7 separate regions of the Homo sapiens genome follow, and all the other regions are linked to region 6. The links are contacts of gene promoters, found by promoter capture Hi-C in human tissues and cell types (Jung and others, 2019). All regions are on one chromosome and are shown on one strand. Each heading gives the region's core, a stretch centred on a gene start or on the middle of the fragment in contact. The rest is flanking DNA. Distances are from core to core; before and after follow the strand shown. Region 1 has its middle 80 kb from the start of LINC01436. Region 2 overlaps LOC101928269 (a long non-coding RNA gene). Region 3 overlaps LOC101928269 (a long non-coding RNA gene). Region 4 has its middle 55 kb from the start of LINC01436. Region 5 has its middle 12 kb from the start of LINC01436. Region 6 holds the start of CLIC6 (chloride intracellular channel 6). Region 7 overlaps SETD4 (SET domain containing 4).

What was found. The method cuts DNA at HindIII sites, captures the fragments that hold promoters and counts their contacts. A contact is called where the count stands out against the background at its distance.
Region 1: a fragment that was not itself captured here is called in contact with the fragment with the promoter of CLIC6 in region 6 in 1 of the 25 tissues and cell types used here (dorsolateral prefrontal cortex).
Region 2: a fragment that was not itself captured here is called in contact with the fragment with the promoter of CLIC6 in region 6 in 1 of the 25 tissues and cell types used here (spleen).
Region 3: a fragment that was not itself captured here is called in contact with the fragment with the promoter of CLIC6 in region 6 in 1 of the 25 tissues and cell types used here (dorsolateral prefrontal cortex).
Region 4: a contact is called between a fragment that was not itself captured here and the fragment with the promoter of CLIC6 in region 6, in 1 of the 25 tissues and cell types used here (dorsolateral prefrontal cortex).
Region 5: a fragment that was not itself captured here is called in contact with the fragment with the promoter of CLIC6 in region 6 in 2 of the 25 tissues and cell types used here (dorsolateral prefrontal cortex and lymphoblastoid cells).
Region 7: a contact is called between a fragment that was not itself captured here and the fragment with the promoter of CLIC6 in region 6, in 1 of the 25 tissues and cell types used here (dorsolateral prefrontal cortex).

Annotation. Positions count from the first base shown.
Region 1 is chr21:35,923,440-35,927,174 of GRCh38, forward strand. No RefSeq gene overlaps it. Among named protein-coding and RNA genes, the nearest start is that of LINC01436, 80 kb to the right of the region's middle. The HindIII fragment of the contact is 4,384 bases long and covers 1-3,735 here.
Region 2 is chr21:35,996,148-36,000,132 of GRCh38, forward strand. All of the region lies in intron 1 of LOC101928269 (a long non-coding RNA gene), which reads right to left. Among named protein-coding and RNA genes, the nearest start is that of LINC01436, 7.2 kb to the right of the region's middle. The HindIII fragment of the contact is 5,560 bases long and covers 1-3,985 here.
Region 3 is chr21:35,977,078-35,981,129 of GRCh38, forward strand. All of the region lies in intron 4 of LOC101928269 (a long non-coding RNA gene), which reads right to left. Among named protein-coding and RNA genes, the nearest start is that of LINC01436, 26 kb to the right of the region's middle. The HindIII fragment of the contact is 4,270 bases long and covers 163-4,052 here.
Region 4 is chr21:35,948,620-35,952,565 of GRCh38, forward strand. No RefSeq gene overlaps it. Among named protein-coding and RNA genes, the nearest start is that of LINC01436, 55 kb to the right of the region's middle. The HindIII fragment of the contact is 4,357 bases long and covers 1-3,946 here.
Region 5 is chr21:36,015,825-36,019,764 of GRCh38, forward strand. It overlaps the pseudogene RPL23AP3. Among named protein-coding and RNA genes, the nearest start is that of LINC01436, 12 kb to the left of the region's middle. The HindIII fragment of the contact is 6,263 bases long and covers 1-3,940 here.
Region 6 is chr21:34,667,376-34,671,001 of GRCh38, forward strand. CLIC6 (chloride intracellular channel 6) reads left to right here and starts at 1,619. Exons shown (of 6, transcript NM_053277.3): 1 at 1,619-3,387. The coding sequence starts at 2,014. RefSeq lists silencers at 1,912-2,351, 3,252-3,331. The HindIII fragment of the contact is 4,429 bases long and covers 258-3,626 here.
Region 7 is chr21:36,045,953-36,049,666 of GRCh38, forward strand. SETD4 (SET domain containing 4) reads right to left here. Exons shown (of 12, transcript NM_017438.5): 5 at 2,356-2,444; 6 at 1-59. Among named protein-coding and RNA genes, the nearest start is that of SETD4, 13 kb to the right of the region's middle. The HindIII fragment of the contact is 5,011 bases long and covers 1-3,714 here.

The sequences.
Region 1 (3,735 bases), core at 425-2,924, 1.3 Mb after region 6:
AAGGCCACCTTTGGAAGCTGGAGATTTCTGGAGAGGTTGCTCCTCCCTTAGGATGTTTATACCTGCTGTTCTCCTTACCTAGAAATCTCTTTCCACAGGTTTTGAGTGACTGATTCTTTCCTGTCATGCAGAACTCAACTTATTTATTTTTTTTCTTTTTGAGAAGAGTCTTACTCTGTCACCCAGGCTGGAGTGCAGTGGCACAATTTCGGCTCACTGCAACCTCTGCTTCCTGGGTTCAAGCCATTCTCCTGCCTCAGCCTCCCAAGGAACTGGGACTACAGGCTCACACCACCACACCCAGCTAATTTTTGTATTTTTAGTAGAGACAGGGTTTCACCATATTGGCCAGGCTGGTCTCAAACTCCTGACCTCAAGTGATCCACCCACCCTGACCTCCCAAAGTGCTGGTATTACAGGCGTGAGCCACCACGACCCACCAGAATTCAATTTAAATGTCATCTCCTCATAGAAGCCATCCCTGACAACGGTAAGGTGATGTATCTGCCAAAATGAGCAAGGAGAGAGAGACTGTGGTCCGAAGGATTGGCCCCCATCTCAGCCTCTCTCTGTGTCTATACCCTTGCCCAGCCTCATCGTGCAAAGAATGCATTTTATTTCCCCTTGACTTTCAGCTTGGCCATGTGACTTGCTTCAGCTGATGGCATGTGGGCAGAAGGAGAGTTTGCCAGGGCAGCCCAGACCTGAAGCAGCCTTTTGTTTTCCCATTTGCCTCCCAAACCTCTCCACCAGAAGAGCATGCCACTGCTAACCCCGTGGTTAACCTCCAACCCCAGGCAGAGAATGAGCGATGCCTGGAGCAGGACCACCCAGCCACACCCACCACGGGTGTGCAGCCACAATGAGTTCTCCTTTGCAGTCACTGAGTTTTGGGGTGCTACTATGTGGCATGATGTGACAAATGATATAACAGGCGTGTGGAGTTCTCTTCATAAAGAGAACTTTATGGCACCCAGCAAGCATTTGTTGGCCATTTATCACTCTCCACATCAGTCTTGCAACCCCTTTTGCATTTTGAAATTACAGATGAAGACAAAGAATAATTAGCAAGTGCTCATATTGCTTATTATCGTAACATCTGTCATATTTATATCAAATTATTCTAAATGTGCAAAATATATGTTACCCATGAGATTGAAATATGCCCTGAGGTCAGAAACTCCACTGTAACCCACTGAAGATGAGCCAGCAAAGTCCATCAAGGCTGCCTACTTGGCTCTCTATGCTTCCCCAACTTGGTGCCATGTTGTCCCTGGCACTAACCTTACAGGAGGTTGGTAGAGGGTGGAAGAGAAAGGAAGGGGGGCAAAGGACAAGAGAGAAGTTAAGAAACTGCACTGACACTTGGTTGGAACCAACAGAATCTACTCCTTACAGGGACATCACGTCCTGAGATATTTATGACTATTGCACAAGAGATCAAACGTCATCATCCTCTTGGGGAAATGGCTTCAAAACCCATGAGGCAGTTTATAAGCTCTGAAATCTCCTAACAAATGAATGGAAAATTTCTTTGGAGGTTCCATGATTTGTCTGCCAACTCCCAAGAATACGCACATACAGGCACACACAGCTGCATCCAGACCTTCCACCTCTTGCTGCTGTCAACTTTGTTAGCTGAGACAGGCCAAGACATACTCACCAGCCCCTTGCTGAGATGTGACTCACCTCTCATACCCTCTTTCCCAACATCGTCATCAATGCCACCTCCCCTTCCCACAGGCTACTCCTCACCACCAAACCACCAGAAGGTGTACAGTGGCCACAGCCATGGTGAGACACCAGCAGACTCCCACATCCCTTGCGGATTTATTTGGTTTCATCGATGCATTAGACCACACATGGGAAGAAAATGAGCAAGTGCAAGAGAAAGGTTTCTTTGATCCTAAATCTGGAAATGAAATATATTTACATAAAGCCATGAAAAGCCAGAAATGGCCAATGAGAAACCACAGCTTGACTCTCAGAGTTAAACACCATTATCAAGCTTTTGTATGTCCTTAATGGCTCCTAAAAGCTCCATTTAAAAACAAACCAAAACTCTGGCCAGAGCTGAAGAGACTCTTACAATCAGTGAGGCCTGGGCCTGGGTGAGATCCGTCAAGCTTGTAAACCTCTCATTCCACCCCTCACCACTCCCCTCACCCAGTGGCATTAACACCCGTGAGCTTCACCCATACATAACTCAGCTCAGCCACTCTTATTATCTTGGCAGCCTCCGGGAGCCTTTCGCCAAGGTTCTGGGCTCTTTCAGTCAACATGACCAATTCCACATCCTTTTATTAATTACTAACCATTTCCCCTTGTAGTCAGCCCTGAAATCCCTGCTTTGATCTGCCTGACAGGTCACATGGTGTGTGCTTCTGAACACAACCCCTCCCATGGCCGACTTCGAACTGGCAAGCCTGGCAGACATACACACAAGCTAGAAAGACATTTCCTGTAGATACAAGAAAAAGAGGGAGTTCTACCAGGAAACCAATGGCCACAGAGAATTTTTGTTAATTCATTCTTATATATAATAAATAGATTATTTATTATTAATAAATAATCTATTTATTAATTATAATAAATAATCTATTTATTAATTATAATAAATAATCTATTTATTAATTATAATAAATAATCTATTTATTAATTATAATAAATAATCTATTAATAAATAACTTGTTTATTAATTATAATAAATAATTTATTAATAAGTGATTTGTTTATTAATTATTAATAATTTATTAATTATTAATAAATAATTTATTTATTAATTATTAATGATTTTTAATTATTAATTAATATTAAATTTATTTATTTATTAATAGCCTGTTGGTATGTATTTAAGAGCAAAATAACAGTGGCTGTCAAAAACACCCTACATCCTGTCCAATTAGAGAGACCATAACTTATTTAGATCACAAAAAGACCACGATTCTGAAACCTGAAGTCTAATGAGCTGAATTATGTGCTTAACGGAGAAGACTCATGGATGAGCCCTCTTGCAGCTTCTGTTAACCTTTTCTGAAGGCACTGGGTCCTCCACAGATCCTGACTGCAGGCAGAATGGCTGGAATGATGAGATGCCTGTCTTGTAACCAAGACCAGGACATAAGCAGATGCCATTCATCCAGACCCACTTTCTTCCTTGGACCACTGTCTATATAAACAGCCTTTCTGTTATTTCCAGTGTGGCATTACAACAAACCAGACACATTTTTCAGGGCACATTGATCTATCCCAAGGGTGTAGGTCTATTAATTCCCTCGAGGCTGACAGTGGATGCTTCCAGGGAAATCTGAAGGCAAGCACACAACTGAATTTAATGAAAATGATTGATTTTTTTTGGTCCACCCCAAGTATCAAAAAGAAAACAGGCCAGGCAAGGTGGTCCGCACCTGTAATCCCAGCATTTTGGGAATCTAAGGCAGGAGGATAGCTTGAGCCTAGTAGTTTGAGACCAGCCTCGGCAGCATAGTGAGACCCCATCTCTACAAAAAAAAAAAAAAAATTAATTAGCTGGGCATAGTGGTGCTTGCCTGTAGTCCTAGCTACTGGGAAGGCTGAGGTGGGAGGATCACTTGAGCCCAGGAGTCTGAGGCTACAGTGATCAGTGATTCAATGATTGCACCACTCTACTCCAGCCTGGGCAATATGGTCTCTGTGAAAACAGAAAATAAAAAATACAACAAACAGCCATTAACAGACTCAAATTGGTTGGCAAGA
Region 2 (3,985 bases), core at 753-3,252, 1.3 Mb after region 6:
GTCTTTTACCCCTCACCCCCTCCCAGCCTTTCCCCCCGAGTCCCGAAAGTCCAATGTATTATTCTTATGCCTTTGCATCCTCATAGCTTAGCTCCCTCAAATGAAGTCTTAACAACACTGACTAAATGTGCACTGTCTAACTCAGTAGTCATTAGCACATGTGGCTATTTCAATTTAAACTTTAGTTCATTAAACTGAAATAACATTTAAAATTCAGCTCTGCAGTCATGCTAACCACATATATCAAGTGCTCAAAAGCCACATGTGGTTAGTGACTACCATATTGGGCAGCACAGATATAAAACATTTGTATCATCATAGAAAGTTATATTTTCCAGTATATAAGACTAACTACTAAAAAAGGGAAAGGGAGTAGAAAAAAATGGTCTTTAAAAAAAAAAAGAGGTCCAAAACCTAAGCATCCACTGTATACCTCTCTTGCAGCTTCCTGGAGCCTCATTCAAACACAATAAACATTCAGTTGACTTGTTATGAGACTCTAGGACTAAATAACCAATGTTGTTCCATTAAAAGATAGTAGCAGTACATGAGCCATGTCTTATTATTTTTGTAATTATTATAAATTTTTAAATAAACTGAGAGCAACCCTTTTTGCAAAAGATTGGTTGATGGCCTCCTGTTTATTCTGGGAATCTGTTCTCCTGATTTCTGGTGGGATGATTTTAGATCTTGCTGGAAAGGAATAGGAAAACATCCTACTTCCCACTTCAAGCACTTTTAGGATATATTTATTTATGATCCTTATTCTTTCCATAAATGTTCAACATAGATTGAATGATTTTTCTTATTTTAGGAATTTTCTTAGCATAAGCATTTGCTAAGGACCACCCCAAATTTGGATGTTATTATGGAACAGTAGAGATTATCTTAGTCAAGGCAAAGCAAGTAATGAAAACCAACTTGGGCTACCTTGATCAGAAAATGAAATTTGTGAGAAGGATGCGGGGGTGCTTCATGGAACCCGAGGATAAGGAGACTTCATGAGCAACTGGGGGACTGGGAAATCCACGAGCTCTCTGCCTCTTAGCTCCACATCTCTTTGTACAACTACTTTCTCCAGAACTTCATTGTTTACTTCACTTCATAGGGTAGAAAAAGACCATCTTATAGCTCTAAGGAATACCTATGGCCACTCCATGACTTCTGGATTTTTGTGTGCTCCTTGGTACTCAGGATTTCTGAGACCCAATTCTAAGTGCCCAGGAAAGCTGATTTACCCGGCTTGCCCCAGTGATCCAAACAACCATGGAAGGAGGGGGGAACCGTCTTAATGCAAACGTGTCAGCAACAGGTACTGAGGTCTCAGAAATCCTGAGTACCAAGGAGCACGCCCTCAGCACTGTGAGACCTGAGTAGATGGTTCAAAATCCAGCCATGGGCCACTAAATTTCCACTTAAAATCATTGTCATGGAATCATTCATAATTTACAGTTGCCATTTTGCCATTGACAAAATTGTGGAAAGAAGGAACTTCCTGACTTGTCTAAAGTCATAGCTACTCATTGGCAGAGACAAAAGAATTATATGTGGACCTTGATTCCTGCCTCCTCCTATTTCTACCACATCCCATTGAAACTTTCACCAATTCAATAGAATTGAAATTGTTGAATTTGCACCCACTAATGATCCCTCAATTATTAACTATTCCCATACTTGAATGTTGTGTACACACTTTTGCACAGTTCTAATGATATGTGCAGCAGGAATCTTGTCTAGGCTGTAGATGAAGCTTGTGGAGGTGAAAGACCCACCCACATGCATGGCATCCACTAATTATCATGGGGTCCAGAAACCTCCCCCCAAATTACTGGAATCTCTGTTGAGCCCAGGAGCAGGTAGAACAGTGCCAAGTAGGGGAAGCCCACAGAAGGTGGGAATAGAGGAGACTGTGACAGTCCCTGGGACAGAGTCTACTGTGCTGGATAAAGGTTGAACCTGATGTGTCAGATTCACCAACAGGACCTGTGGGATAGAGGGAAATGGTAATTCTAGGTACGACTCTGCCTGGATGCTGCCCGCAGGCTCAACCACATTGACAGTGTGTACATGATTTGGGGAAGAAAAAGGATGTACAATACAAACAATTAAGAGAGCTGTAAATTCTTGGGAGCCAGCACCCAGCATCTCTGAAGAGGGAGCGCCTCCAGAAAAGCAGAGATTGGAAGGTGTTTCCCTAGCGGCAAGAGAGGGGTAAGCCCCAGCACACCTAAAGTCCAGGAGGCAACAGAGGCTGCCTTCCATCCCCACTTTCACTGCTGCCCCCACCCCACCGCCCCAAGCAAGTATCAGCAGACCAAAGAAGTCTTAGAGCTTTAAGGGGACTTGGAGCTCCAGAAACAAAAGTAAGTTCTACCAACAAGTCCAATGTAGAAAACTACGGGGAACGACGCTGATTGGCCCCGTTTGCATTACCTGACAACTCCAGGACCAATCACCATGGTGGGAAGGATGTGGCACCATAAGCAGCACACCCTGCGTCAGGTGCCCGTTCAGCCCCCCACAACCACACATGTTAGGGGAGGACCAGCAGGACCTCAAAGGTGAAGAGAGGTACTGTTACTGGAGGAAGAAGTGCTAAACACACCAAAACAGCAGATACCTACTGGGTACTCCCCACCTGAGGGATTTCTACACAGTTAACCTAACAAGGTCAAGAATAAAAGGTATGAATAAGCTGAAATCACTTTAGAGAGGAGTTTCTGAAAAAGAAGATGCTAAGATAAGACCTTAAAGTTCTCCAAGAGGATAATATGGAAAAAAGACAAGGAACTAAGACAACCAAGAAATAGAAGTATAGGAATGAAAAAGACAAAAGAAATAAACTAAAGAGCAATAAAAGTTGTCACATAGGCTGGGCGCGCTGGCTCACGCCTGTAATCCCACCACTGTGGAAGGCCGAGGCCGGTGGATCACCTGAGGTCAGGATTTCGAGATCAAACCTGGCCAACTTGGTGAAATTCCATCTCTATTAAAAAGACAAAAAATCAGCAGGATTAGCAGGCAGGTGCCTGTAATCCCTACTCAGGAGACTGAAGCAGGAGACTCACTTGAACCCGGGAGGCAGAGGTTGCAGTGAGCCAAGACCACGCCACGGCACTCCAGCCTGAGCAACAGAGCGAGACTCCATCCCAAAAAAAAAAATTGTCACGTAGTAGCACCTCCTAACTCTACATGCATTCTTTCATTTAATCCTCCTAAACAGCCCTGAAACAATTCTGCATGATTGATTATCACCCCCACTTAGAGAAATCTGAGTTTCACAAAATGAAATCACTCACCCAAGGTCATTCAGCTAGTTATGCAGCTGGATTGGAAATGTAACCTAGGTTAGACTGACCTCCAAGCCCCTCCCACCCCCTTTTATGTCTCTCTGCCCCCTCCCCACTATACTACCCCCGCATCCTGCAGAGTCTGAAAGTCAATCACGAGGACTTTGGAGCTTGTGTGAATATTTTTGAAAATGCAGTAATATCCATATCAGAAGTTCGCATGTAAGAATTCAATAACTACTTTGAGTTTAACTGGAATGGTAGGAATTGGAAAGCCAGGAAGGTGTGAGGTAGGGCTTCCCACATGTTCATGCCATAAGCATCTCTGTGTGCTTGTTAAAACTGCACCATCTAGGTCCTCATCCCCAGAGATTCCAATTCTTTGGGTCTGGGGTGAGGCCCAAGAAGTGCCACTGCAACAAGCATCAGCTGATTCTGAGGTCATCCTTCAGAAACCCTGGGGAGAGACCACGGAGGAATTCATGATAAGAGGCTATGATTAAAGAAAAAAAGGAGAAAGGTGTTGCATTCTAAGACTGTGAGAACTGGAAAAGAAGAAAAAGAGATGTGTCAAAGGCGACCACTAAATCTACTTATCTGCCTTTGACGATGAATGTAGTCTTTATCCCAAGAAGAGAATATTCTGGAAGAGCTGGGCAACTGGTAAAAGGAAGGGGAGAGGGGGGAGATGCCTC
Region 3 (4,052 bases), core at 1,048-3,547, 1.3 Mb after region 6:
CTTCCCCATGTCCCTTCATGCCCTGCCCACTTTCCTAACCTTGTCCCCCAGGAGTTTCCACCAAGAGGAGGAGCAGCTGAGCTCACAGTACCTGGAGTTCTGTTGCACACACAGCTGTGCAGGCCCTGCATCACCCTCGGGCCAGGACAACACTGGGGCTACATTCACCCAGCTCCACCACCTCCAGTTGCCCCATGCTGAGAAATGGCTTCAAGGAGCAGCCCCATCCTGTGGCCTGGATTTCTCTAGGTGGGCTCAACTCACCCTCTTCCATTTGTCCTGCTCGTTTCTGCAGAGGCTACGCTGATATGTCACTTTCTTTTTTTCAGGGACCTCAGTCTTGGCCTCTCCTTTTGAACTGCTCAAGGTCCCCTTACATGTGTTCTTCATTGAGGCTTTTTTGGCAGAGGTTTGCTTCCCCAGAGATTAATAAATGCCCACAGCACACTTTGCTGAGGAAGCTGGGTGACACTAGGAGAGCTCTCTGTGTCTCTCTACCCTCCATGTTCTCTAGCAACCACATTCTCCATAGCAGTCTGTGCTCTGAAAGTTACAGGAGAGGACTCGCTGGGAAAAACCATTTTTCCAACTGGACTCCAAGTTGGAAACTGTCAAGTGGAAACATAAATACAATGAAAGGCTCAGGAAGAAAACGCAACAATAAATCTCAAGAAGCAGAGAATAGAATGGTGCATGTCAGGGGCTGTGGAGGGGGGAAAAGGGGAGCTTTTCAGTGGGTATAAAGTTTCAGTTATGCAAGATGATATGGTTTGGCTGTGTCTCCACCCAAATCTCATCGAACTGTACTCCCATAATTCCCACATGTTGTGGGAGGGACCTGATGGAGATAATTGAATCACAGGGGCAGTTTCTCCCATACTGTTCTCATGGTAGTAAATAAGTTTCACGAGATCTGATGGTTTGATAAGGGGAAACTCCTTTCGCTTGGCTCTCATTCTCTCTCTTGCCGCCACCATGTAAGAAGTGCCTTTTGCCTTCCGCCATGATCTTGAGGTCTCCCTAGCCACGTGGAACTGTGAGTTCATTAAACCTCTTTCTTTTGTAAATTACCCAGTCTTGGGTATGTCTTTATCAGCAGCATGAAAATGAACCAATACACAAGATGAATGAGTTCTAGAGATCTGTTGCACAATGTCATGCCTATAGTTTACACAGTATCGTACACGTAAGAATGTGTTAAGAGGGCAGATCTCATGTTAAACATTTTTACCACAAAAAAATAAACATATGATAAAATTAAGAACACAAGGAAACTTTTGGAGAGGATATGTTCATTACCTTGATTGTTGGGATAGTATCCTGGGTATAAGCCTATGTCAAATTCACCAAATCGTATACATCGAACATGTGCAGTTTTGGTTTTGGTTTTGTTTTGACACAGGGTCTTGTTCTGTTGCCCAGGCTGGATGGAGTACAGTGGTGCAATCACAGCTCACCGCAGCTTCAAACTCCTGGGCTCAAGCAATCCTCCCATGTCAGCCTCTCATGTAGCTGGGACCACAGGCACGTGCCACCACACCAGTCTAATATTTTTTATTTTTTTGTAGAGACAGTCTCACTTTGTTTCCCAGGCTGGTCTCAAACTCCTGGGCTCAAGCAATCCTCCTGCCTCAGCCTCCAAAGTGCTGGGATTACAGGTATGAGCCCCTGTGGCCTGCCCAGTTTTTCAAATGTATCGATTACACTTCAATAAAGCTGTTTTCCAAATAAAATGAAAAAGAAAACTCAACCATAGCGGGCGATGGGCTGTGAAGTGGGAGGGAGGATTCCTCCATGGCTCCCCGACTTTGAACTTGGATGCCTAGGTAAATGGCAAACCAGGGAAGACACAATAGAGGCGGGTATTGGTGGATTTCCACCCACAACTGCCCCACATAGGCAACCGCTATATGAAATGTTATCACCTCTTCGTTCATGATATATATATGCAGTGATGTGATGATAAATGTTTAGCAACCATATCTCCAAAAAATTGAATGTATGCGTGTGGGTATGTGTGTCTATTCCTGTACAAGTTTACTACAAATTTTTAAAATTTTTTCCCAGCTTCATTAAGGTATAATTGACAAATCAAAAGTATACATATTTATAGTGTATAATGTGATGTTTTGGTCTGTGTACACATTGTAAAAGATTAAATCAAGCTAACATATCCATCACCTCACCTCACATACTTAGCTTATGTTTGTGGTAAGAATACTTAAGATCTACTCTCTTAGCAATTTTAAGTATATGATACTGTTATGATCTGAATGTGTGTGTCCCTCCAAAATGCACATGTTGAAGCCTAATCCCCAATGCAATAGTCTTAAGGGACCTTTAGGAGGTGAGGAGATCACTGGGGTGGAGCCCTCGCAGATGAGATTAGTGCCCTTATAAAAGAGAACTGAGGAAGCTTGTTCTTCCCTTCTGCCCTGTGAGGACCCAGCTAGAAGGCATCATCTATGAAGCAGAGAGCAAACCCTCATTAGACACTGAATCTTCTAGCACCTTGATCTTGGACTTCCTCAGCCTCCAGAACTGTAAGCAATAAATTTCTGTTGTTTGTAAGCCACTCAGTTTATGATATTTTGTTATAGCAACCCAAACAGACCAAGACAAATACATTAACTATAGTTATCATGCTGTGTCTTATAAATTTTTTGACATGAAGGATGTATAGCACACAATTTACAAATAATAAGATTGCCTTTTATGTAAATCGGTAAAGTCAATTGATTCTTACAGAATGGTTTTGTTGATTTTTGCCAAACCATTGTAATTGCAGCCAACATATGGCTGCAACTGATGAACAAGTGTAGCTCCAATATGAATGCTGGTTAATATTTTTGTTTTACATTAACAAGTAAGAAGAAAGCAAAATAAATGACAAAGACATATGGTGGAAAACATTTTCATCATTCATAAGGGCGACTCTTTGTTAAATCAGGTAGTAGTTGTCAAATACTAGAAGACTGTTTCCTCAATTTTTGTGCCATTTACAATGCAGCAGCTGAAGACATGACAAACTTTTAAGTCGAATCTGCATGATTAACATTTCCCCACACTTCCTTGTGTCTAGATAATCAACAAAACAAGCAAGCTCTGATTGGCAGAATTTGTCAATTTTTTTGGTGTAAATACTCCCATTGTGGCATATTCCAGGCTACCAAGGTGATGTCACTGAACACAGAGTTGCAAAGAGATGTACAGTAGCACACCAGAGTATTGTATTTTCACCACACAGATGCAATAGCTGGCCAGGTTCGGTGGCGCACGCCTGTAATCCTAGCACTTTGGGAGACTGAGGCGGGCAGATCACTTGAGGTTAGGAGTTCAAGACCAGTCTGGCCAACATGGTGAAATCCCACCTCTACTAAAAATACAAAAATTAGCCAGGTGTGGTAGTAAACACCTGTAATCCCAGCTACTTGGGAGGCTAAGGCAGGAGAATCGCTTGAATCCACGAGGTGGAGGTTGCAGTGAGCCGAGATGGTGCCATTGCACTCCAGCCTGGGCAACAAGAGTGAAACTCCGTCTCAAAAAAATAAAAATAAACAGATGCAATAGCTATAAATAACCTTAAAAGCACAGCTAATAATAAAAGGCAGTAAAATGATTAAGAAATGATGAGCTTAGAATGTTATCATCAAATTCAATATAATTTATTTAACAATAAGTGTAATTAATTTTGAATCATGGCTGTGTTTAACAACTGGCTTGCAAAATTCCTGAAAAGTTAACGGTTGGCTCTTGCATGCCAGTTCAGCCCAGCCCCAATGCACCGTGACATAAATGCCCAAACAATATGTTATTTTTTGTACTTTAAAAAATGGTAATATGCTGCATGCAATCTGGGAGTTGCTTTTTCATACCACATTATGTCACTCTTGTCTTTTGACCCTCAACATCATCCTTGCCCCTTCTTTGCTCTCAGCTGATGTATCACAGGATGGGGCAGCCTGGGAACAGCCCTTAGGGTCTCTGTTCTGAGATCATCAGTGAGAAGCACATGGTGGGACAAAGACAGATTTCACTCTTCCTGGGGCAGC
Region 4 (3,946 bases), core at 877-3,376, 1.3 Mb after region 6:
GGCAAACAGCTAAGAAATCCTTAATGGGCTTTGAGGGTTCCCTATATTCATTATATTTTTAATGTAACGGGCAGCCACCATGTGCCATGCATACTGCTAGAAACATAAGATGCCATGAGAATGTGGCCCTAGATCCTTGGAAGAGTGGGGCTACTTCTTTCCCAATTGTTGAATCTTTTTATGCCTATTTTTGGTTTTAATACATGTTATGGAAGCATAATCGTCCTTCCAAAAATACTTGGTAACCAACATTGGTTTAATGGTGTATAAAATTTATTTTGGCTTTAACAAGGCATCTGGATCACAGATTCCTATAAAGGTTGCAAAGTCAGGCCCCAAGTGATACAGTCCATGGGACACTGCCTTTCCCATCCCTATCCATTCCTCCTGCTCCTACTCCCAGCTGCCTTGTGTGAAAAGGTCAGTTGTACTGGTTTGCCCAGGATAATGAAATGTCACTGAATGAGCTGCTATAACACTAACTATTTTTACTGCTTTTGCATGTTCCTTTCTACTTTTATCTCATCTTTGAAAGATGTTTTACGACATCTTTGCAAGATGAATGGAAAAGGCAATGGGGCATGCACTGAAATGTGGACTATGCTAAAGCTTTGCAACTCAAGACCAAATTCCACATAGATACTTCCTATTCACTTCCATAGTCTGCTTGCTGCTTTCCCTGCCTCCTCCACCCTATCCCACCCCAACCAATTCAGATGGACTTCAAAAATTCAAGTCCAGTAGGGCACAGTAGCTTATACCAGTAATCCCAATGCTTTCAGAGGCCAAGTCAGGAGATCACTTGAGGCCAGGAGTTCAAGACCAGCCCAGGCAACACAGTAAGACCCTGTCTCTACAAAAAATATAAATAAATAAAAATTTTAAATTAGCTGAGCATGGTTGTGGGTGCCTGTAGTCCCAGCTACTTGGGAGGCTGAGGCAAGAGTATTACTTGAGCCCAGGAGTTTGAGGTTATAATGAGCTATGATTGCACCACTTCACTCCAGCCTGGGTGACAGAGTAAGACCCTATCTCTAAAATGAATGAATAAATGAATGAATGAATGAATAAATAAATAAATGGATTAATTTAAAAAAAATCAAATCTGATAATGATATTACCTGGCCTAATCCTTTCCAATGGTTCCATGTCACTTACCAAGGACAGTCAGAACTGCTCATGCATATTCCAGGCCTTTCTGGTCATCCCTGCTGGCTCCGTCCCCACTCCTGCAGCCAATGTGACAGCCCCACACCTGTGCACATGCATTCCCCAAACCCGCACCATCCTCATCCCATCTCATCACCAGAAGAGCAACTCCTATCTGCACAAGCATCCCATCTTCCATGAAACATGTTTCTTAGAAAAATGTTTAATTAGGAAAGAAATTTAAATCAGTACCTTCTTTGAAGAAGACCGGAGGGATGGGTTTGGCCCTGGAGAGAAAGTTATACCCAATCTTAGAGAATCTTACCCTGCTTTTTCTTTTATTCAGTACCCAGTAACTACTGATGAGGTGGACTCTGTACCACACATTGATTTCACTACTAAAGCCCCAGGAGAATAGACAAGTCCTGGAACCAAGCGGGGCTGGCAAGACTTTATGGGAAAATGTGCATAGAAGTAAAACATGCAAACAAGGTATTTTGAGTCCTTGTGAAATATACTTCTGCAGAAGTATATCTTCCACTTTCATCACTGTCCCCAAGAACGTTTGGGGAATAAGGTGGCCACTTGGATAGCTAAGCTGCAAAACCATCAGATGATACATGTAAATGGCAGGTTTAAGAGAAAGAATAGCTCCCAGTCCAGCAATCCACCCATGGGGTTGGATTACCATGTCGAAAGACAAAATGTGCTCCTTGTAAACTAGAGTGGCCAGCCATGGAATCTGCCCAGCCTGTGGGCAAATGTTGGCAGGCCCCATCTAAGCACTGTGCAGGGAAGGGGCTGGCCCAAGGACTCCAGCTGCCTGGCCCAGGGGCAGCTCTATCTAAATGAAAGAGTGTATTAATTTCCTAGAGCTGCCATAACAAATTAGCACAAACTGAGTGGTTAAAAACAACAGAATTGTATGGTTTCACAGTTTTGGAAGCCAGAAATCTGATATCAAGGTGTCATCAGGGTTGGCTACTTCTACAGGCTCTGAGGGACAGTGCATTCCATGCCTCTTTCTAGCTTCTGGGGGCTGTCAGGAATCCTTGACACTCCTTGGCTTGTAGCTTCAGAACTCCAATCTCTGCATCTGTCTTCACATGGCCTTCTTTTCTTCTCTTGTAAGGATATAGAATTTGTAAATTGACACTGGATTTAGGGCACACCTAATCAAGGATGATTTCATCTTGAAATCCTTAACATAATTACATCTGCAAAGACTCTTTTTCCAAATAGGGTCACATTTATAGGGTTCAGGTGGACACACCTTTTGAGTGGCTCACCATTCAATCCACTGCAGAAAGCATACATTATTCTGACTGAACCTTTGCCACTGATATCCCCAGTTCTGAATCCAAGCTGATCACACTTCTTTCTGATTGTGATTTCATTCCCCAGGTAATCAGACCTGCCTGGCATTTTTGAGAATCCAGGCTCTGTGCAGTTACATTTCTTGTAAAAAATCAATGGATTGGAGATCCGGTTTTACACTTGAGTCTCATGAGAGAGGTGTGTGTCTGTGCTAGAGAGAGAAACAAAACCATCTCTTAATGTGTTCAGCCAATCTTCTCTGAGCCTGCCAGCCTAGGGCCAAACCCAAGCCTGGCAAATTCTCCAAGGTAAGCCATCCTGGGAGGGCCCTGGAGACACTGCCTATCTGCAAAAGACCCTCTGCTATGCGTGGCCAAGTGAGGACCGAGAATCAGTGCGAACTAGAGCTTCTCAATGAGCCAGTAGTCACCCCCGATCCTTCCACCCTATGTCTGTGCTGACCAATGGGGTGCACAGTAGTGTGCACTAATGATGTGACCCCTTGGATTATCCTTTTGGAAGATGAAGAGTGGAGCCAGTCAAGAGGCAGAAGAAGAGATAAAGAAGAACCTTAAAGACCATCCTGACTCCCCATGAACTGTCTCAGATTGAGCGATGCCCACTGTTCAAACACAAGTGTGACCAACCCATGGCCAGGTAGCTGCTGCCTGAGAAGTAAGGGCCCTCTGCCCTGGAATTTCACCTGCAGCCTCTCCTCCCCAAATACACTCTGCCATGTGTCGTTGAACCTGAAATCATAGTTTCTAAGCCTCTCTCAGCTACTGTCAAAAAAGCCAATAGGAATAGATCTACATTAAGACTTTTTAACCCATTTTGTGTTGCTAGTTTTGTAATTGCTGTTGGTGTTTTTACATGATTTCCAAAAGATCTGGCTTCCTGGAGAAGCTGGCAGTTTTCCAGTGATCAAAACTATTCTGTGATAAGAAAAGGATTGGCCGGGCGCAGTGGTTCACACTTGTAATCCCAGCACTTTGGGAGGCCAAGATGGATGGATCACTTGAGGTCAAGAGCTCGAGACTAGCCTGGCCAACACTATGAAACCCCGTCTCTGCTAAAAACACAAAAACTGCCAGGTGAGGTGGCAGGTGCCTGTAATCCCAGCTACTCGGGAAGCTGAGGCCTTGAAACCAGGAGGTAGAAGTTGCAGTGAGCCGAGATTATGCCACTGCACTCCAGCCTGGGCAAAAGAACGAGACCCTGTCTCAAAAAAAAAAAAAATGATTAGGAATTAAGATTAAAGGTCACAATGACACTATGTGTGTGTCCTCAGGGAAGACATTTCAGCAGAGAGATAAAAGCTTCCGGGTGCTTTCATCTGTGAGTTTCCAACAAACCTGTGAGCCTCCGGCAGTTGTAGAAATTCTCAGACGAGATATGAACTCATTTCCAGACCCACGGACATTGAAATAGGGAAGAAGGACCTGATGTGAAAGGACAGAGGTAAGGGCCAGTTTGTAGC
Region 5 (3,940 bases), core at 311-2,810, 1.3 Mb after region 6:
TCTGCATGTAATTTAATTTCTGCAGGTTTGCCAGTTGGCTTGTCACTTTTACCCAGAAGTATCTGAGAGAGAAAAAAAAAAAAATTAAAGCAGGTGTGGGGCAAGAGGGAAGGCAGACACAAACGCAATCCAATGTTATAGTAGAAGATCACTGCTTAGACTATCTCCATAGTTCATCTTTGCTTTGGTTTCCATCTTAATTTTTTTATGTGAAAAGATATACATATATTTAGAATTAGCCAGCTGGACTCAGTTTAGATGATCCCAATTTTGTTGGCAACATCCAAAGCATCATAATCAGGAGCCAGTGGAACATATGCCTTCTTCTCTCCATCAGGCCGAATCAGGGTGTTGACCTTGGCCATGTCAATATCATAGAGCTTCTTCACAGCCTGTTTGATCTGGTGCTTGTTGGCTTTAACATCCACTATGAACACAAGTGTGTTGCTGTCTCCTATCTTCTTCATGGCCGACTCAGTGGTCAGCGGAAACTTGATGATAGCATAGTGGTCAAGCTTGTTTCTTCTGGGGGCACTCTTCCAAGGATATTTGGGCTGCCTCCAGAGTCGCAGTGTCTTGGGCCACTGGAAGGTGGGTGACGTGTGGATCATTTTTTTTGTGGCTGTGGACACCTTTCAACACTGCCTTCTTGGCCTTTAAAGCCTTCGCTTTGGCTTCGGCTTTAGGAGGGCAGGAGCTTCCTTCTTTGCTTTCGGTGCCATCTTGTGAAAAGCCCATCTTAATTTTTAAATTGAGATTGGTAAAGTTTTTCTATTTCTTCATAGTAAATATTTTCAGCTTTGCAGGCCATACATAGTCTCTGTTGCAACTACTCAACTCTGCCTTTGTAAGAACGAAGCAGCTATAGGCAATATGTAAATGAAGGGTGTGGCTGTGTTTCCATGAAACTTTATTAATAAAAACAGGAATCAGGGGCCGGGCACGGTGGCTCGTGCCTGTAATCCCAGCACTTTGGGAGGGCGAGGTGGGAAGATCACTTGAGCTCAGGAGTTCAAAACCAGCCTGGCCAACATGGTGAAACCCTGTCTCTACAAAAAATACAAAAATTAGGCGGGTGTGGTGGCACGCACCTGTAGTCCCAGCTACTCAGGAGGCTGAGGCAGGAGAATCACTTTGAACCCAGGAGGCGGAGGTTGCATGCAGTGAGCCAAGATCGCACCACTGCACCCAGCCTGGGTGACAGAACGAGACTCCATCTCAAAAACAAAAACAAAAACAAAAAACAGGCATCAGGTTGGATTTGGCCCATGGGTCACAGTTCATCAACCCAGCTCTTCACTATGCTAGAATCAAGAGCCATGATTATGTTTTACAATTTTGATAGCTGCTGACATCACTGATTGTATGTCATATTTACCCTACTTCAGACCAACATTTATTTCCTTTTCTTTTTGTACATTGCCAGATTACATTGCGATGCTATATCACAAATTTGGAGGTACCACATTTTAATGGGAAGGAAATATTACGATATGGAGACAAATATACATCACTCCAAGCCTCCCCACCGCTATCCTCTACCCCCATGAAAATGAATGATTGTGGAGGAGTGGAGCAAGTTTTCAGTGGAAATAGTGAAATGATTCTAAAATCCCTCTTTTTCCACCGAGCATGGTGGTTCACACCTGTAATCCCAGCACTTTGGGAGGCTGAGGCGGGTGGATAACCTGAGGTCAGGAGTTCGAGACCAGCCTGACCAACATGGTGAAACCCCATCTCTACTAAAAATACAAAAATTAGCTGGGCGTGGTGGTGCACGCCTGTAGTCCCAGCTACTCGGGAGACTGAGACAGGAGAATTGCTTGAACCTGGGAGGCAGAGGTTGCAGTGAGCCAAGATACCACCACTGCACTCCAGCCTAGGTGACGGAGCAAGACTCCATCTCAAAAAAACAAAAAACAAACCAAAAACACCCTCAAAAAAACAAAAGAAACGCTTCGCTTCTCCTCCTCAGTCCTTAACTTCCTCTCTTCTTCCCCTTTCAGAGTGAGATTTTGCGTGGTAAGATTTGGGGAGGCATGTTTTGATATTCCTTGTGATTTTGAATGGGAGGCCAAGCAGGGCTTCAGGAAGTGGAGCCCAGAGCTGGTGTTCCTGGGCTTGGTGACAGGTCCTGGGCCCCTCCCTGTCTGAGGATACCATTCTATGTGTCCCCATGACAACTCCGAGGTTTGATGCTGGTGGAGCTGATTGCTTCCATGAGGGCTTCATAGTCTAATTCTAGCACACTCTCCATTTCTCAATGGACCACTCCAAAAAGCTTCCCTCGAAGGATCAGTCTGGCCAAGAAAAACTTGCATGGCCCTGGGTACCACCATTTCTACCTGCACAGCTCCGGACAACCGCAGAATCCTGATGCCCGCTCTATGTGGGACCATGAAAGGCCCTCTCGATGTTGTCCTGCTCTCAGATTTCTTTTTCCAGAAAGTTCAGCTGTGGCTCCCATTTCTACTGCTATGTAACACTGCTGTGCTCAGGCTGGGGAAGCCCCTAATTTTCCAACAGGGAAATAATCTTGTACATTGAGACCAACCGTAACATTATCCCAAGCAGCTATGAGATGTGCACAAGTAATTTGTTATTAATCCAAATTTAGCCTTCTCCCTGACATAAAATTAAATTATGCCTTCAAAAGCCTAAAATGGCTTAAACATTATCCCTAAAATAATGTCACTTCCGATGTGCTTTCTGTAGTGAAAAAAAAGAAGTTAGGTGAGAATGAATGAACCACCTATGCTTCCCCTCACAACCCAGAAGCCCTTGATCCACAGTGAGCAGCCGTGGGAAATACAAATTGTTCTGCTGCTTGCAAGGTGTGGTTTTATAGTTTCTGTTGTTTTCTTTTGCATTTCATTCTGAAATATATTCTTTTTTTTTTTTTTTTTGAGACATAGTCTCGCTCTGTTGCCCAGGCTGGAGTGGAGTGATGTGATCTCGGCTGTCTGCAACCTCCGCCTTCCAGGTTCAAGTGATTCTCCTGCCTCAGCCTTCTGAGTAGCTGGGATTATAGATGCCCGCCACCACACCTGGCTAATTTTTATTTTGTATTTTTGGTAGAGATGGGGTTTCACCATGGTGGCCAGGCTGGTCTTGAAGTCCTGACCTCAAGCTATCTACCCCCCTCAGCCTCCCAAAGTGCTGAGATTATAGGCGTGAGCCACCGTGCCTGGCCCTGAGATAGATTTTTAACATGAAAGATGTCAAGGCTAAACACACGTGAGTAACCCCTGCACTGCTGATGAACGAATATGCCACCCTGCCTCTCTCCAAGCAAAGAGGAGAAACCTGCCATCAGGCTGTATGAACTCTTCTTTGCTTTTTTCCAGTATTGTCATTCAGATTAGCTTTCATGCACGTACCACAAGAAAAATCAGATGTCCTGGATTTGTCCTGTGTTCCTCATCAGCAGAGGAAGCCACTAGCAGCCCTTACGAGAATCAAGGCTACTCTACTGGAACTCTTCTTACATAGCCAAAAATGTGTGAATTCCATTTACTGTGATTTTTAACAAAAATGTGTTTATTTAAATGTGTTTATTGTGGTACTCGCTTGCTTAATTATCTTATTTATTTTATTTGTTGTATTTTTGAGACAGGTTCTCACTCTGTAGCCCAGACTAGAGTGCAGTGATGCGATCCTAGCTCACTGTAGCCTCAACCTCCTGGGCTCAAGCAATCCTCCTGCCTCAGCCTCCAGAATAGTTGGGACTACAGCTATGTGCCAGCACACCCAGCTAATTTTTTTTTTTTTTTTTTTTTTTTTTTTGTGGAGACGGGGTCTTGCTGTGTTGAGCAGGCTGGTCTCAAACTCCTGGCCTCAAGTGATCCTCCTGCCTCACCCTCCCAAAGTGCTGGGATTACAGGTGTGAGCCATCACTACCCTTGGCCTGTTTGCTTAATTATCTGTGGAATACAGAAAA
Region 6 (3,626 bases), core at 369-2,868:
CAGAACCAGAAAGGCTTGAACTCAGCTGGAGGTGAACCTAAACTGGGGGTGGGGGGCCTGAAGCTTGTATGATTTTACCATATCTCACCAAATGTGATGCCTGTCTTACTGCAGAAATATTAATGTGTTTGATCACAAAGTGATGTTCTGTGTTATGTAATATACAGTAAAATCACTCAATCATCTTTCTAACAATTCTGTTTTCTGAAACACATCCGGGCTCATGGGATTTGCATAAAGCACTGTAAACCTGTACTGTGTTTGCTGTTCCGGGCTGAACGTGCTGGCTTCATCTTTCTTTACAAGATAAGGGTGATGGCTGCTACCTTGCCCCGGTGAATGCAGCAGGATTCCTTTTCTAGGTGCCTAGAGCTTTTACGGCTCACGTGCATCTCTGGCTCACCTGTGTGAGTGTCATGCTTTGACTAGATGCCACTTTGTGGTGATGAAGCTTCTGGCCTGTACCTACCCAGACAGAGCACAGCCTTGGAGAAAGGTAGCATGAAGCTGAGTGTCTCTGGGCTCCTGTCCTGTCATCCATCAGTGATGAGCAATGGGAAGTAGAAGGAGACACATTATGTTCATGGCCAAAGGTGTGACCCCAAGCCACATCAAAGGCACACCCAGCTCTTTCAACGAAAACAACCTTCTGTGGGCATGAGGGGCTCATGTATCTTAGGCCAATATCAAAGCCATATAAAGCCTGATGAATCAAGTCAGTCTTGAGCTGGGATCCCCGTTCCACCACATTTACATAGTGCCACCTTGGGTAACCCAGTTTCTTGGTAACCCACTAGAAGTAGCCTGGCTTATAATAAACTTACGACATACTTTTCACCATAATAACTTCCTTTTTAAAGTAGGTATTGGGTCTGTGATCCTGGGAGAACCCTAACCCAGGGAATTCCATAGCTCCCCTCTTTCACATCTTGGATTTTCTTTTCTCCACCTCCAGATTCCCAAGCTCTTAACTTGGAGGCAGAAGCACTGGTGGTGAGTTTAGAAATCTAGGAGAATCAGCAAGATACACAGACTCTTACAGTCTTAAGAGACCCGGGAGATGAAGGTGTAACCTTTTTCCAGCGCAGGGCTCCCACGATCCTCCAGACAGGCCCGGAGAAGCGGACCCTCATGGACAACAGCGCCCATCTCTGGTCAGAGAAACTCGACTGGCTCCTTGTGCGTCTATATGAGGGGCCTCTGGAACCTCTCCGGGGGCCCTGCAGACATGGGAAGGCGGCCAGCGTAGCCTCCCCAGCTTCTTCTCTCAGGGATTTACACCCTTGCTCTTGGACATCAGGCACAATGTGGACATCTTCAGTTGGGTACCGGGGGAGCTTGATGCTTCACTCCTGGGGTAAGGTGGGGATTAGGTGTTTGGGTGTCGGGGTGTGTGTTTGGAGGGGGTGATTTAAGTGACTCTGGAACTTGAAGCCATTCTAGAGAACAACACCCAAGCGGCCAGGAGAACCAGAATCTTTTCATCAACATCCACAAGGGTCACGAGAAAGGCTGTCATTGGCCAAGCTCCTAGGCTACCCAAACAAAGGAGGGAGGAGGGGAAGACAAACCCCGCCCAAGCCCCAGGGGATGGAGTTGGCACCAAGGACTTCTGGTCAACCCCAGGACAGCGGACAGCGGGCCGGGCACTTCCAAAGGCGCAGGAGCGAAGCAGCCCTCTCCAGCCGTGCACTGCACCTCCGCGGCCCGCGGGCGAGATTGGGGTCCCGGTGGGAAGCAGACGCGCAATCGGGGAGAAGCTCCAGCAGTGGAGGAAGAGTCCAGGGAGTTTCAGCTGGGCAGAAGGGGCGCAGAGGCTTGGGGCCAAGCGGAGTTTGCCCTGCGGGTCCTGCGCAAGGCCCCAGTGCCCCGGCTAAACCTTTGCCGCAGGATCCCGGAGCCGGCGTCCTTCAAGGAGCACAGAGGGCCCCGTAGCACGCCCCTTGCCCAGCGCCACCGACCCTTAAGCAGCGTCAAGGAAGGAGTCCCGATCAAGGACAGGGATCTGCGGCCATGGCCGAGGCCGCGGAGCCGGAGGGGGTTGCCCCGGGTCCCCAGGGGCCGCCGGAGGTCCCCGCGCCTCTGGCTGAGAGACCCGGAGAGCCAGGAGCCGCGGGCGGGGAGGCAGAAGGGCCGGAGGGGAGCGAGGGCGCAGAGGAGGCGCCGAGGGGCGCCGCCGCTGTGAAGGAGGCAGGAGGCGGCGGGCCAGACAGGGGCCCGGAGGCCGAGGCGCGGGGCACGAGGGGGGCGCACGGCGAGACTGAGGCCGAGGAGGGAGCCCCGGAGGGTGCCGAGGTGCCCCAAGGAGGGGAGGAGACAAGCGGCGCGCAGCAGGTGGAGGGGGCGAGCCCGGGACGCGGCGCGCAGGGCGAGCCCCGCGGGGAGGCTCAGAGGGAGCCCGAGGACTCTGCGGCCCCCGAGAGGCAGGAGGAGGCGGAGCAGAGGCCTGAGGTCCCGGAAGGTAGCGCGTCCGGGGAGGCGGGGGACAGCGTAGACGCGGAGGGCCCGCTGGGGGACAACATAGAAGCGGAGGGCCCGGCGGGCGACAGCGTAGAGGCGGAGGGCCGGGTGGGGGACAGCGTAGACGCGGAAGGTCCGGCGGGGGACAGCGTAGACGCGGAGGGCCCGCTGGGGGACAACATACAAGCCGAGGGCCCGGCGGGGGACAGCGTAGACGCGGAGGGCCGGGTGGGGGACAGCGTAGACGCGGAAGGTCCGGCGGGGGACAGCGTAGACGCGGAGGGCCGGGTGGGGGACAGCGTAGAGGCGGGGGACCCGGCGGGGGACGGCGTAGAAGCGGGGGTCCCGGCGGGGGACAGCGTAGAAGCCGAAGGCCCGGCGGGGGACAGCATGGACGCCGAGGGTCCGGCAGGAAGGGCGCGCCGGGTCTCGGGTGAGCCGCAGCAATCGGGGGACGGCAGCCTCTCGCCCCAGGCCGAGGCAATTGAGGTCGCAGCCGGGGAGAGTGCGGGGCGCAGCCCCGGTGAGCTCGCCTGGGACGCAGCGGAGGAGGCGGAGGTCCCGGGGGTAAAGGGGTCCGAAGAAGCGGCCCCCGGGGACGCAAGGGCAGACGCTGGCGAGGACAGGGTAGGGGATGGGCCACAGCAGGAGCCGGGGGAGGACGAAGAGAGACGAGAGCGGAGCCCGGAGGGGCCAAGGGAGGAGGAAGCAGCGGGGGGCGAAGAGGAATCCCCCGACAGCAGCCCACATGGGGAGGCCTCCAGGGGCGCCGCGGAGCCTGAGGCCCAGCTCAGCAACCACCTGGCCGAGGAGGGCCCCGCCGAGGGTAGCGGCGAGGCCGCGCGCGTGAACGGCCGCCGGGAGGACGGAGAGGCGTCCGAGCCCCGGGCCCTGGGGCAGGAGCACGACATCACCCTCTTCGTCAAGGTAAAGCTCGCTTCCCTCAATTCTTAGGACGACCCCCTTCCATTCGAGGTCTTGGTCATCTCAGATCCCAGAGGGACGCGCAGGGAGGAACCCTTGGTGGTATCCTGATTGTCATCAGGCGCTTCCATGCGCGGGCGGTAGGCGGGACAGCCGGGATTTCCCGGAGAAGAGTTTCCAGGGCATTTGCGGGAGGACTCAATGGTTTGGAAGCAAAGACTTTGGGGGTGGGGGCGACGGGG
Region 7 (3,714 bases), core at 300-2,799, 1.4 Mb after region 6:
GCTTTTCTGAAACTAAAAAGGTGCACAGCGCCAGCAGAGGAGATGGAGGAGGCTTCCACCTTTGAAAATTAAAAGCCAGTTTAAAGGAATTACTTTGATTCAAAATACGAAATAAGCCAAGCAGTTTGTTTTGCTGCCAGAAGGAGTGTGTTCAAACTGTCAACACACTCAGTTTACTTAACAGACTCAAGAGTTCCTTCCTTCCTTCCTTAAGGCTCTTCCTCTCCAGGGGAGCACAGCCCCAGTGCTAGTGCTCTGAAAGAGCCATACTTACATGTCAGAAAAACTGACTCACTAAGCCAAGTTCCAGGTTTGTTTGCAAGAGATTCCTCTTTGCAAAAAAACCTCTTTGCTTCCAACTTGGTTCTCCAGTTGTAAACCTTTTGACCTAAGTCCATTTGTCTCACCTATGTAAAGATATAAAATATGGTGGGGAAAAAATGGTGGAAAGAACTGAGACCTGCACCATCCGATATAGTAATCACTGGGTACACAGAGCTATTTAAATTTAACCTTTAATTATTTAGAATTGAATATTTAAAATTCAATCCCTTGGTAAGATAAGCTATGTTTTAATTGCACAATAGCCATTCAGAGCTAGTGGCCACCATACTGGACAATGCATAAAAAACATCTGTCATTGCTAAAAGCTCTATTGGAGGGCACCAACCTAAACCAAAACTGAATATGCTCATATACAGTTGTTGCAGTTCTAAAGCTTTTATTCCTAAGTTTACCTGCTCTATTACAAATTATGTATCACAGTATTTTTACTTGCACAATTGCCGATAAAAAGATCTCATGTTGCCTGAATGTATTTAGAAAGTTTTCATCAATCCTTCGACATCCAGATTCCTATACTGCCATACATTCTACTCAAAATTTCAGAATGATTCAGAAAATGTTAACAATGACAGCATCATTGTCTCTACACAGGCCTAAAAGACCTATTCACTCTCTTCCAAAAACATGCCAGGGGGAAAAAAGACCAGCACTTACCTAATGGTTAAGAGACAGTATACGCCAGGCACAGTGGCCGTTTGCCTATATCCCAGCACTTTGGGAAGCCAAAGTGGGTGGATCACTTGAGGCCAGGAGTTTGAGACCAGCCTGACCAACATGGAGAAACCCCATCTCTACTAAAAATACAAAATTAGCAGGGCATGGTGGCGCACACCTGTAATCCCAGCTATTTGGGAGGCTGAGGCATGAGAACTGCTTGAACCCGGAAGGTGGAGGTTGCAGGGAGCCAAGATCACGCCACTGCACTTCAGCCTAGGCAACACAGCAAGACCTTGTCTCAAAAAAGAAAGAAAAAAACGGTATACTCTTTCAACCCTTGTATTTAGAAATCCCTTCCACTGCGGGTCGCTCTCACTCTGTCCTCAAAGATGCCCCAAAACAAAGGCCCAGCAGAACGTGTGCCAGAAAACAGTTCTTCCCCATCAGCCTCCTCTCTTCTATACCTAAATAAAACTAATTCTTTCACAAAATTAACAGCTCTTCAAAGTTCAAGGAAAACTGAAGTACAATAACGGTAGAAATAAGAGAGAGTAACTTACATTTGTCAAGAGCTACTATGATGGAAGAGAAGAGGCTACTATGAGCCAAGGCACTCAGCTGTGATTTACATATATTATCCCATTTAATTTTTATTTCTTAGTCAGTGATGGATCGGGATATCATACCCACACTCCAGGAAGCCTATTAAAAACCTTAGAAATGCCATTTACAGTGAATTAAGAACAAACTTTCTGGCCGGGCACGGTGGCTCACACCTGTAATCCCAGCACTTTGGGAGGCTGAGGCGAGTGGATCACAAGGTCAGGAGCTCAAGACGAGCCTGGCCAAAATGGTGAAACCCTGTCTCTACTAAAAATACAAAAAAAAAAAAAAAAAAAAAATTAGCTGGGCGTGGTGGCAGGCACCTGTAATCCCAGCTACTTGGGAGGCTGAGGCACGAGAATCACTTGAACCTGGGAGGCAGTGGTTGCAATAAGCCAAGATCACGACATTGCACTCCAGCCTGGCAACAGGTGAGACTCCATCTCAAGCAAGAGAGAGAGAAAGAGAGAGAGAGAGACAAGGAAGGAAGGAAGGAAGAGAGGGAGGGAGGGAGGGAAGGAGGGAAGGAGGGAGGGAGGGAGGGAGGAAGGCAGGCAGGCAGGCAGGCAGGAAGGCAGGGAGGGAGGGCAAACTTTCTAGAATGGAGTAAACTTTTCACATCATTCAGGTTATTTATCAGCTCTACAAGGGACTGGGTTCTAATGAATTGTGTCTCAAGTGACATATTTGCCATTGACAGACCTTAAGGAGAAGCACTTGCACCAGGTAAGCAAGTGTGTGGTCACTTACTTAGTAATGTATGCCCCTAAGTAGCTTCGAATCACTGTGTCCGTGGTGAGCAGGCAACTCTCAGGCAACGAAATAATCATCTGTCCCTCCTGGCCAAAAGGAAAGTAAAGTTGAGGACGCCTATGCTTTGGGAAGGACCCATGAGTATGAGTCTTACAAAGTCGTTGATCCCACAATCACCTACCAGTAACCCACTGTAACTCAACCAAAAGCCACCAATGAGCCTACCAATGGAGTCGCTCCCAACTCTGCGAGTCAGCAGATGCACACGAGGCTGCTCCAAGGCGAGGCCCCACAGCCCCAACAAAAATGAAAGGTCAATTATGTGACTGACACCCACAAGCAGTCAACCCTTCACCAGAATGAGTGGTGGAAACATGCTGACAATTCAAATTATACTGTTTCTTCACTTTTTTTTTTTTTTTTTGAGATGGAGTTTTGCTCTTGTCTCCCAGGCTAGAGTGCAATGGCGTGATCTCAGCTCACTGCAACCTCCACCTCCCAGGTTCAAGCGATTCTCCTGCCTCAGCCTCCCAAGCAGCTGGGATTACAGGCACCCATCACCATGATGGTGCCTAATTTTTGTATTTTTAGTAGAGACAGGGTTTCACCTATTTCTTCACTTTCTTATGCCAGGAAATAGTGCTACCAATAGTAAACAGACAGAAACTACCCCCAAAAAATTGTATCCAGTGAAATCCAAGTGGCCAGGTGATGGTCTGCTCTCTACATAACCCACGCTTATGAGCTAAAGAAAGGCCAGCATGCCCAACACAGTAAGCGTCGAACTCTACCACTTGCAAGAGTATCGTTTTCAGTGTCTCCCACGGAGATAGAACCATGGAAAGAAAAATTAGATGTAAAGTAATAGAAAACAGTTTAAATAAACACTGCATGAAGAAGCCAGATGTAAGACTCTCCTTTAATTCTAACTGGCATCTAAGTTGGTTAAAAATCTCAGCCAAGGCCAGGCGCGGTGGCTCATGCCTGTCATCCCAGCACTTTGGGAGGCTGAGGCAGGTGGATCGCTTGAGGTCAGGAGTTCAAGACCAGCCTGACCAACATGATGAAACCACATCTCTACTAAAAATACAAAAATTAGCTGGCCATGGTGGTGCACACCTGTCATCCCAGCTACTCGGGAGGCTGAGGCAGGAGAATCACTTGAACTCGAGAGGCAGAGGTGGCAGTGAGCCGAGATTGCGCCACTGTACTCTAGCCTGGGCGACAGAACGTGACTCCGTCTCAAAAAAGAAAAAAAAAATCTCAGCCAAAAAATCTTCCGGGATCAATTTCTGGTTTCCTCATCTGTAAAGCAAGATTAAGCTGGATGATCACTATGGTCACTTCCCATTCCAA